2 separate regions of the Homo sapiens genome follow, and region 1 is linked to region 2. Evidence: promoter capture Hi-C in human tissues and cell types (Jung and others, 2019). All regions are on one chromosome and are shown on one strand. The core of a region is centred on a gene start or on the middle of the fragment in contact, and the rest is flanking DNA. Distances in the headings are between cores, read along the strand shown. Region 1 overlaps TANC1 (tetratricopeptide repeat, ankyrin repeat and coiled-coil containing 1). Region 2 holds the start of TANC1 (tetratricopeptide repeat, ankyrin repeat and coiled-coil containing 1).

Region 1 (4,559 bases), core at 506-3,005, 100 kb after region 2:
GTTAAACTTGGTATTTTAAGCCATTCCAGGCTGCAGCCTGGCTTTCAGTGGTACCTTCTAAACATGCCTCAATACAAATGATGCTTTGTTTTATGTAGAAAATACGAAGCTGCTTTTGATTATTCTGTGCTGCCACTGCCCGTTTTCTGTGGTTGTGGACTATTTAGGAATTTAGTGCAGTGACTCTCTTGCTGAGCTATGGATATTTGGTATCTTCTTGTTAACATTCTCCAAAAGTGTTTCCCAAGCAACAAAACAAGCAGAAATAATTCAGTATAAAGGTATTGTATTTTTCTTTACTGGGGCATTTAAACAAATTCTGCAAAATGTTAGAACATGATTTAAACATAGAATGGGACTTCTGTGTTTTTTTGTTTTGTTTTTTGTTTTTTGAGATGAAGTCTCGGCTCTGTTGCCTGGGCTGGAGTGCAGTGGGTGCCATCTTGGATCATTGCAACCTCAGCCTCCTAGGTTCAAGCGATTTTCCTGCCCAAGCCTCCCAAGTACCTGGGATTACAGGCATGTGCCACCACACCCAGCTAATTTTCGTATTTTTAGTAGAGGTGGGGTTTTGCCATGTTGGCCGGGCTGGTCTCAAAATCCTAACCTCAGGTGATCTGCCCACCTCAGCCTCACAGAGTGCTGGGATTACAGGCGTGAGCCACTGTGCCCAGCCTGATTTTTAATAGGAGCAGGAATGCTGGTTGTTCCCTCTGGTTTGATAGGTTCCTTCATCAGATTTTCTTTGTTGTCCCTCATGTATGTCACAAAGTCAAGAAAAAGCATGGACTTTGAAATTAGAGGACACAGACTCACATCCCTGCTCGATCACCTCCTATTTAACTTGAATTTGGACATATTTTCTTAACCTTGATTAAACTACCTTATAGTTGTATTGTCAGGGTTGAATACGAATACCTTTCTGCAAAAGTGTTTTAGCTTGACATTTGGCCTCTGCTAGATATCCAGTACATCTTTTCTTTCTTGAGAAAACTGTGTGATACCTTAAAGAACTAACAAAACCCTTAAAAATATATAAATAAAAGATATACCTAATGTTAAAGGACGAGTTAATGGGTGCAGCACACCAACATGGCACATGGATACATATGTAACTAACCTGCACGTTGTGCACATGTACCCTAAAACTTAAAGTATAATAATTAAAAAAAAAAAAGCTTCTTGTTCCTTTTCTGTTATGGAGAAGACAGGACTGATCTCAGATGAAGAGTGATGTTCTAGAAGCTTCTTTCCATGACTTCCTATTCCCAAATATTCTGGCATCTCCTCTGGATACTAAAGGCTCTTCTCCCAGCTTCAGCCTTTCCCCTATAACAAAACTGGGGAAGCTCTGAGTCATTTGTCTGCCCTGTGGTGGTTTATGCTTTCAAAATAATGTATTTTACCTTTTAACCTCTATGAAGTACTTGCATTTTATGGTTTTCTCTTTATGAAGTTAAACTGAAAGGCTTTTCTCCTTGCTTAAAGGGATTTCGGGAGTTGGCAAGCAGTTTCGAGAATAGATTTCTAAGTACAGTTTATAAAATGTTATCTCAACACATCCTTTGTGAATGAAGGTCTTTATATATGGAGGGCCCTTGTCCCCCGACCTCTTCATAGCTTTTCCATGTGTTTTAGGGAAATATAAAGGATGAAAGAGTTAGGGGAAGTAGGGAACAGATATCTACCGTTTATCATTAGGCACCTACATGTAAGGCCCAAGCTGGTTTCATGCTGAACTGCCTGTTTTCCTGGTGGGGGGCATACTTGGAGAAAGCTCTGGACCCCAGAGGAAAGGGAAGTCAGTCACCCTGGACTAATAAGACCTTTTTGTGGCATAAGATCTCCAGCAAGGCACCACCTATCTGAATCATCATAAAGCATGTGATAAAACTCTCAAACAATGCTTCTTTACTTGAGCTGCTTTTTGTATGTGTATGTATAAATGCCATAGGAAGCTAGATCAGTAGTAGGCAAATGAGCAATTCCGAGTTCATTTTTAAATTATCAAATCTAATTTTATTTCACAAATTTTTATTAAAACTCCTCTGTAAAACACAAAGGTCTTATTTTGTACAGACTTAGTTTTCAGAAAGTTCCATGTATATGTAACTTAATTCCCATAAAAAGTTTCATCTTTGCTTTTCCATGTTTTCTATTTGCACTTCCTAGAAGGGGAATTCTAAGGTTTTATTTCTATCCTACAGGAATGTAAAAAACTTGATTTCATATAATCTACTGGCAAGTGTAGTTCCTGAGTGGGGAGACGGGCTACAAAGGATTCTGAAGTAGATTGGCTTTTATTTCGTGGCTGGTGATCCAAACTGAGTATTCCTCATAAGAGTCTTAAGGGGATGGTGTGTTTACCAACCAGTTGTCTTGCAGTTAATGAGGGTGGCCATCAGGTGACCAGCTGGGTAGCCCTAGCTCTGGATCAGCATCAAATTGAGAAACCTTATTCACATCCAGAATCAGAGTTAGAACGCAGCATCTGTGTGTCTTCTCTCTCCCACTCCCCTCTGTCCTTTTAGGGGCAGGCTAGTTATACCTCATCAGCCATGAAAATACCATTGTTCTTGTCCTATGTTCTGGTGACCACAGTGCAGTGGGTAAAGGTAAAACGAGCAACTGAGCAGCTGGTTTTAATTCTTCACACTCTTAAAGTTTGTCAGGGAGTTGCCCATTTTTAAGGGAGTTTGGAGCCTTCAACTGCTAGATTTGGTACATGGTGATGATCTTTATGCCCTGGGATGTCATCAGGAATGATGTCTCTGATGTGAGACATGCATGGAGGTGGCTGTAGTGGTTTGAGATCTTGTCTGGGTTTTTGTAGATCACGAAACTGGCTGATAGCAGAGGCTAAGAGCCTGGAGGTAGACTCCAGGTTAAGGATGGAAGAGAGCCACCTGCACACAGGGTCTTCCTGATGATTGTGTTTTTATTTCACTTGCCAAAATTAAGGAATTTATGTTAATGCATTGTTTCTTTGTGAGGGCTTGCTCTTCACGCCCCACTAAGCAAATTTTCTATATGACTTATCTAGAAAGCTTCTTTCCAAGTACGAGATGTTAAAAATATTTTGATTTTTGATAGTACATCTTCGTGTTGTCTTAGTCTGCTTGAGCTGCCGTAACAAAGCACCATTGACTGGGTGGCTTTAACAATAGAAACTTATTTCCCCTCGCCATGCTGCACGCTTGAAAGTCTGAGATGAGGGTGCCAGCATGGTTGGGTGCTTGTAGGGGTTGCCCTCTCCCTGTGTTCTCACATGGTAGAGACAGGGATAGCAAGTTTTCTGGTATCTCTTCTTATAAGAGCGCTAATCTCATCATGTGCTCATGTAACCCAATCATCTAATCTGACCTCATCCAACCTAATTGTCTCCCAAAGGCCCCATCTCCCAAATACTGTCACATTGGGAGTTAGAGCTTCAACATAGGAATTTTGGGAACACAATTCATCTATAGCACTTTAATGTTGTTATTATAAACACGATACCCTGGAGAATTGGTCATGAAACACCATTATTTTATGTACTAAGGAAGAAAAAAAGTCAATCAATTAGAATGTTTATTACACTTAAGATTTTCTTTAAACTACTAGAGAAGTAAAAATGAGAATATCAGTATTTGAATCCATGCCTAATATTTATATACTCAATGTACAAAATTCGAAAAATACGCTGGGCCCAGTGGTTCATGCCTGTAATCCCAACACTTTGGGAGGCTGAGGCGGGAGGATTGCTTGAGCCTAGGCGTTCAAGACCAGCCTGAGCAACATAGTGAGACCTTGTCTATTAAAAAAAAAAAACAAAAAAAAAACTGGCCAGGTGTTGTGGAACATGCCTATAGTCTCAGCTACTTAGGAGGCTGATGTGGGAGGATTGCTTGAGCCTGGAAAGTCGAGGTTGCAGTGAGCTGTGATCACACCATCACACTCCAGCCCAAGTGACAGAGTAGTAAGACCTTGTCTCCACAAAAAAAAGAAAATAGAAAACACTCATAATACTTACAAGCAAATAACCCAAGATATTCTGTATTTTTTGCTTTATCTTTTTTAAATACAATGTCATTTTTTTGTATAAAAAAAAGCCTAAGATTTTATTGTACCAATGTACCATGGTTTTATTTGGGCCCATTTTGTTTCCATATTTTTTTCATTTAAAAAACCGTCTGGAAAATACATACCTTTGTATGAATTTTATTTTAGAATATGTTTTCAAGCATGGAGTTAATAGGGAAAGGAAATGAACTTTTTATAAGCTGTTAGTGCCTCTTGCCAAATTGTTTTCTAGAAAGCTCATGTTGGTTGCCACCTGTGTAAGCAGTATGTGAATGTGCCTGCTTGCACAATTCCTATTACTAGGGGGTATTTGTGGGTTTTAGTAATCTTTGTCACTTTTATAGGTTAAAACTTGCACTTCATTGTTTTTAATTAGCATTTCTTTGAGATTGGTAGACCTCTTCCAGTATTTATTGCTCTGTTACATTTCTTCTTCAATGATTGTCTTTTTCATGCCCTTGTACTTGTTTTTTTCTGTTGGGATTGTGAGGGGCTTG
Region 2 (4,050 bases), core at 618-3,117:
GTAGAGGGAAAAAAATTGCACTGCCTTCAAAGCCCTATTTAACTAAGCAATTTCATCAAAAATTTGGAAATACAGCTGAGAAGAGCCAAAACCAGAAAAATGTGGTACAAATGATAAATTTCATCCATTATACCTTTCTCCCATTATAAAGAAGTCTGGAGCAGGAAATCTTACCAGTCTATTTTCTTAGGATTGTTTCTCTTATATTTTAATATTTCAGATTAGTTAGACTGCTTGGAGTTTTTGTCTTTTGTTTGCATCATTCTTTTATCATTAAGGTTGCTGTCTGGCTTTTTTGTCTGTTGAAAGATTTCGTTTCAAGATAAATTAAATAAAACATTACCATATTTTTCAGCAATGAAACATTTCAGATGGAGAAAGAAGTCAATAGTTTTCTGGTTTAAGTTTGTATTTTTATTTTCAATATTCTATCCTGCCTTGTTTCGGGAATACTTCAAGGCCGCTGATGTGTTTACTGCTCAAATATCAACACAGCAGTAATCAGGCCTTTGAAACTATGGGTGAAAAATCCAGTCCATTTCAGTCTTTTTAATTTATGAAAAGAGATTGTGTGGCATTTTGCTTCCTGTCCCTTTTCATAAGAACTTTAAATATGGACACCCCTCCTGCTGGTGTCTTTATATAGGGAAGCTCTGCGTGAGGTTGAAGTTTTTATGAGGAAACTTGTTTAAAACACAATCGTATTTTAAGGCGGGTTTGCCACAGCAAGGTTAGGGGTTACCAATAAATCGGTTTACAGCAACTTCTCTATTCTCTGCTCCAGACACACCAATGGGGTGACCCGTGCACAATTCCCGCTGGCCACACAAGGCAGCGGCAGTTCTAGTTGATCCTTCCTTCGTCAACTAGATCAACGAAGGCTGTCTTAGAGAGCTTCGGGTATTAAGTGAGCAGAGTCCCTTAGGCCAATTTGGCTGCCTGGGATTCCTGGGAGGATCTTGGAGAACCCAGGACACCCGAATCCCTAGTCCCTATCCTGGTTTTTGCTCTGCTGGAGAATAACAAAACATTTTGGGAACTCAGGAGTTTAATTTACTGCCACCAACCGACAAAATAATAGCATCTTTGTGTGTTCTCTCCCCTCCGTCCCTCCCACCTCCTTCCGACAGAAGCACGACGCTGGCCCTCTGTGAATGTAGCGCAGACAGCACGGGCCAGCCCGGAGCGGTCGCAGGAGGCTCCAGACCCGCGGCCCCAGGGACGCCCGGGAAATCACCGGCCCCAGAACGTCCCCCATTCCTTTTGGGAAATAAAAAGACGCAGCCGGTGAGATGCCTTCTTAGACCTTCCAGCTCATTTAGCTGATTCTGGCCCCAGAAAGTGTGTTTGTGTTTGTGTGTAGTTAAGTGAGGCAGAGAAAATCCAAGAAAGCCGCACAAGCCACCCCAAAGCGTCCACGGAAACTCCAGCTCGGTTAATTGCTCCCATATGTCCTCCTCGGCTGTGGTAAAAAAGCAGCGAGGAGGGAAGGCCGGGTCGCTTTATTGATTTTGAAGAGGCTGTAAAAAAGACTATGGCCCATCTCATTTTGGTCCCAGAGGGGCCTAGGCGCAGCCCCGGGGGACCCGGTGCCCAGAGGGATGGTAGGGTGCTTCAGGCCCGGACCTGGCGCCGAGAGGCGGGACAAGGGGACCTCGCGCCCAAGCCCCGCGGAAAGTTCGCGCTCCGCGCTCCAGCCGGTCCCTGGATCCGCCGCAGCCCGGGGCGGGGAGGGGCGCGGGAGGCGCGGCCGGGGCGGGCGCGCGAGAGGAAGGTGCCTTCGGGAACACGCGCAAGGGCGGGGATTCGCGCTGCCAATGAGGCCCCGGTGTGGGCCGAGCAAGGCGGGGGGACGGGCCGGAGCGGAGGCTTTGCTGTGGCAGCTGCTGGAGCGGCGGCCGCCTCGGGAGCCGGAGGAGAGGCAGCCGCGGAGCGCCGAGCTGGCCTCGCCCCGAGGCCCGGCCCTGGGTGTGGGGAACCGCGCTGAGGAGCTGGAAACTTTCCCGGCAGGTAACTCCCGCAGCCCGGACTCCGCCGCGGGCCTGCGAGCGCCCCGGGCATGGCCAGCTGCCAGTGTGCGGAGAGGTCGAGAGGGACCCGGGGTGGAGAGGGTGATGGGAGAAGGGAAAGGCGTGTGGGAAAGTTTCTGGAGCGCCCCCTCCTCCGCCGGGCACACCCGGGAGCTTTCCGGGAATAGGCACAGACATGTTGGGCGCCCCGGGCCTTGGTCTCTCGGCGGCTTTGGGGAGTCCGCACCTTCCTTGCGCGGTTCCCCCGCGCCGGACCGAGCCGGCCTCCCCTGGAACCGGTGTGGTGGGAACCGGGAACGCTTGGGGCACGCTCGAGTTCTGGGACCACCCCCGCCCGGCGCGCCCGCTCGCCCCCTTTCCCGCCTTCTCTGTAGCCCTCGGGCTTGGCAAGGGCCTGGGCTACGCCTGGTACCTGGCGCGGGGGAGGCGGGGGGAGGCGCGCCTGGCACCGCGGGGTCCTGGGCGCCCCCCGGAGTGTTGGGGTGCGCGGGTCGCGAAGTTGCCGAGAGAACTTAAGCCGGAGGCATGGTATTGCCCCAGTCTGGGCTGAAAGTCTATTGCTTTGCTTCCAAGAACACTGCGATTAGCATATCCACACTCCTTTATTGGGGGTGGGGGTGAGTTAGGATTAGACGTTGGGGGTTTTTCTTTAGGGGTGGGGCGCTGAGAAGAGCGGTAATTGTCAAGATTGTGAGCCCCCTTGTTCTTGGATGCAGAGTGGTCATTTTCGGGGGACGATATCAGGGCACTGGCTTCCTGGAGGACTTTGGGGTGCGGGCGCGCAGCGCTGTGGGTGTGCGGGGCTCCCGGCTTTGGCGCGGCGGCTTTCCGGAACGCCTGGCTGGGAAGGAAGCTCTAGGCATTGTGTGGTGTGTTTGCAGACAGAAAGGTCCCTGGACCGGTGTTCTCAAAACTTACTGGACTTATTGTGTAAAGCTCCGGGAGGAAATGTGGCGTTGGCCAGGTAGAAACGCGGCGCTGCGGCCAAGGGGCGGAGGACGCCAGGCTCGGCAACGGCCTTCTCCCAGCCCCCTCCTGCCAGCTCCAGATCCGCGTGCCTCCAGTGTTGGGACCGTTCTCAGTGGCGTTGTTCCCTGCTGGAGTTAACTTGGGAGGTGAGGAGGGAACTTTCATCTTGAACTTGACCCCAGAAGCAGCGTCGTCCGTACAGGTTACAAGGTAAATGGAAGCTGAGTCTTAACGTGGGTTGGACCGCAAACTCTGGCTGGCGCGGAAAGGAAGTTCCTGGTTCAGAATCTTTGAGGAAAGGGCTCAAGATTGCTGAGATCGCTCGCTCTGGAAATGCCAGACACACCAGACTGCAGAAGTTAATGCGTGTTTGGAGGGGTGGGGGTGGGAGAGGAAAGGAGAAACCTGGTTAGTTGGCACAGAGGGCTGGTATTTCTCTGTAGTGGAAATGAAGGGAGTCTGCGTCTCTGCTTTCACCAGATCCGCTACCCTCTTTTTTCCTTCCTTGGTCATCTTTATTCCTGCCAGGCTGGCACTCCTGAGGCAGGGGAGGGGAAGGAGAGGAAAGCAGTTGTGAAGCTTCCTGGGTCAGCCTGGAGGTATTTCAGATCTGCTACTAGGAAGATTCCAGGATTTTAACAGCTGCTTCTTGATTGCTGGGAATGAAGGAGTTTATGAGCGGCTGAGACTACTTCATTATAGAAGTAGTCTGAGTGTTTTACTCATCTAAGCTACTTAAAGACCTCACAAGGGACCTTCCCTAGAGTATGCCAGTTTCTGCAGTTTGTGTCAGCCAGAATGCTTGGTGAGTGTTAGTCAAAAAGCATCATAAATATATCCTGGTGGTTCTGAAATGAAAAGTATGTGGCAGTAAAGGAAGTATGGTATCTGATATCCTTCAGGACTTCCTCCTAGGGTTGTTCCTGTTACCTGCCAAGTGAACTTGGTTCAGGCTTCCGGACTGTTGTGATTTGACAATAAGAGATGGGAAATAGTGTCATCGATTTTAGTGGAAGCAGGAAAAGTCCACAAATAAATTTAAGGTGAGTTT

What was found. Contacts are between HindIII fragments. The study calls those that stand out against the background at their distance.
Region 1: a fragment that was not itself captured here is called in contact with the fragment with the promoter of TANC1 in region 2 in 2 of the 25 tissues and cell types used here (IMR-90 fibroblasts and hippocampus).

Annotation. Positions count from the first base shown.
Region 1 is chr2:159,071,606-159,076,164 of GRCh38, forward strand. All of the region lies in intron 3 of TANC1 (tetratricopeptide repeat, ankyrin repeat and coiled-coil containing 1), which reads left to right. Among named protein-coding and RNA genes, the nearest start is that of TANC1, 110 kb to the left of the region's middle. The HindIII fragment of the contact is 4,174 bases long and covers 1-3,842 here.
Region 2 is chr2:158,966,773-158,970,822 of GRCh38, forward strand. It overlaps TANC1 (tetratricopeptide repeat, ankyrin repeat and coiled-coil containing 1), which reads left to right and starts at 1,868. Exons shown (of 27, transcript NM_033394.3): 1 at 1,868-2,010. RefSeq lists silencers at 1,654-1,763, 1,824-1,903. The HindIII fragment of the contact is 16,038 bases long and covers 1-4,050 here.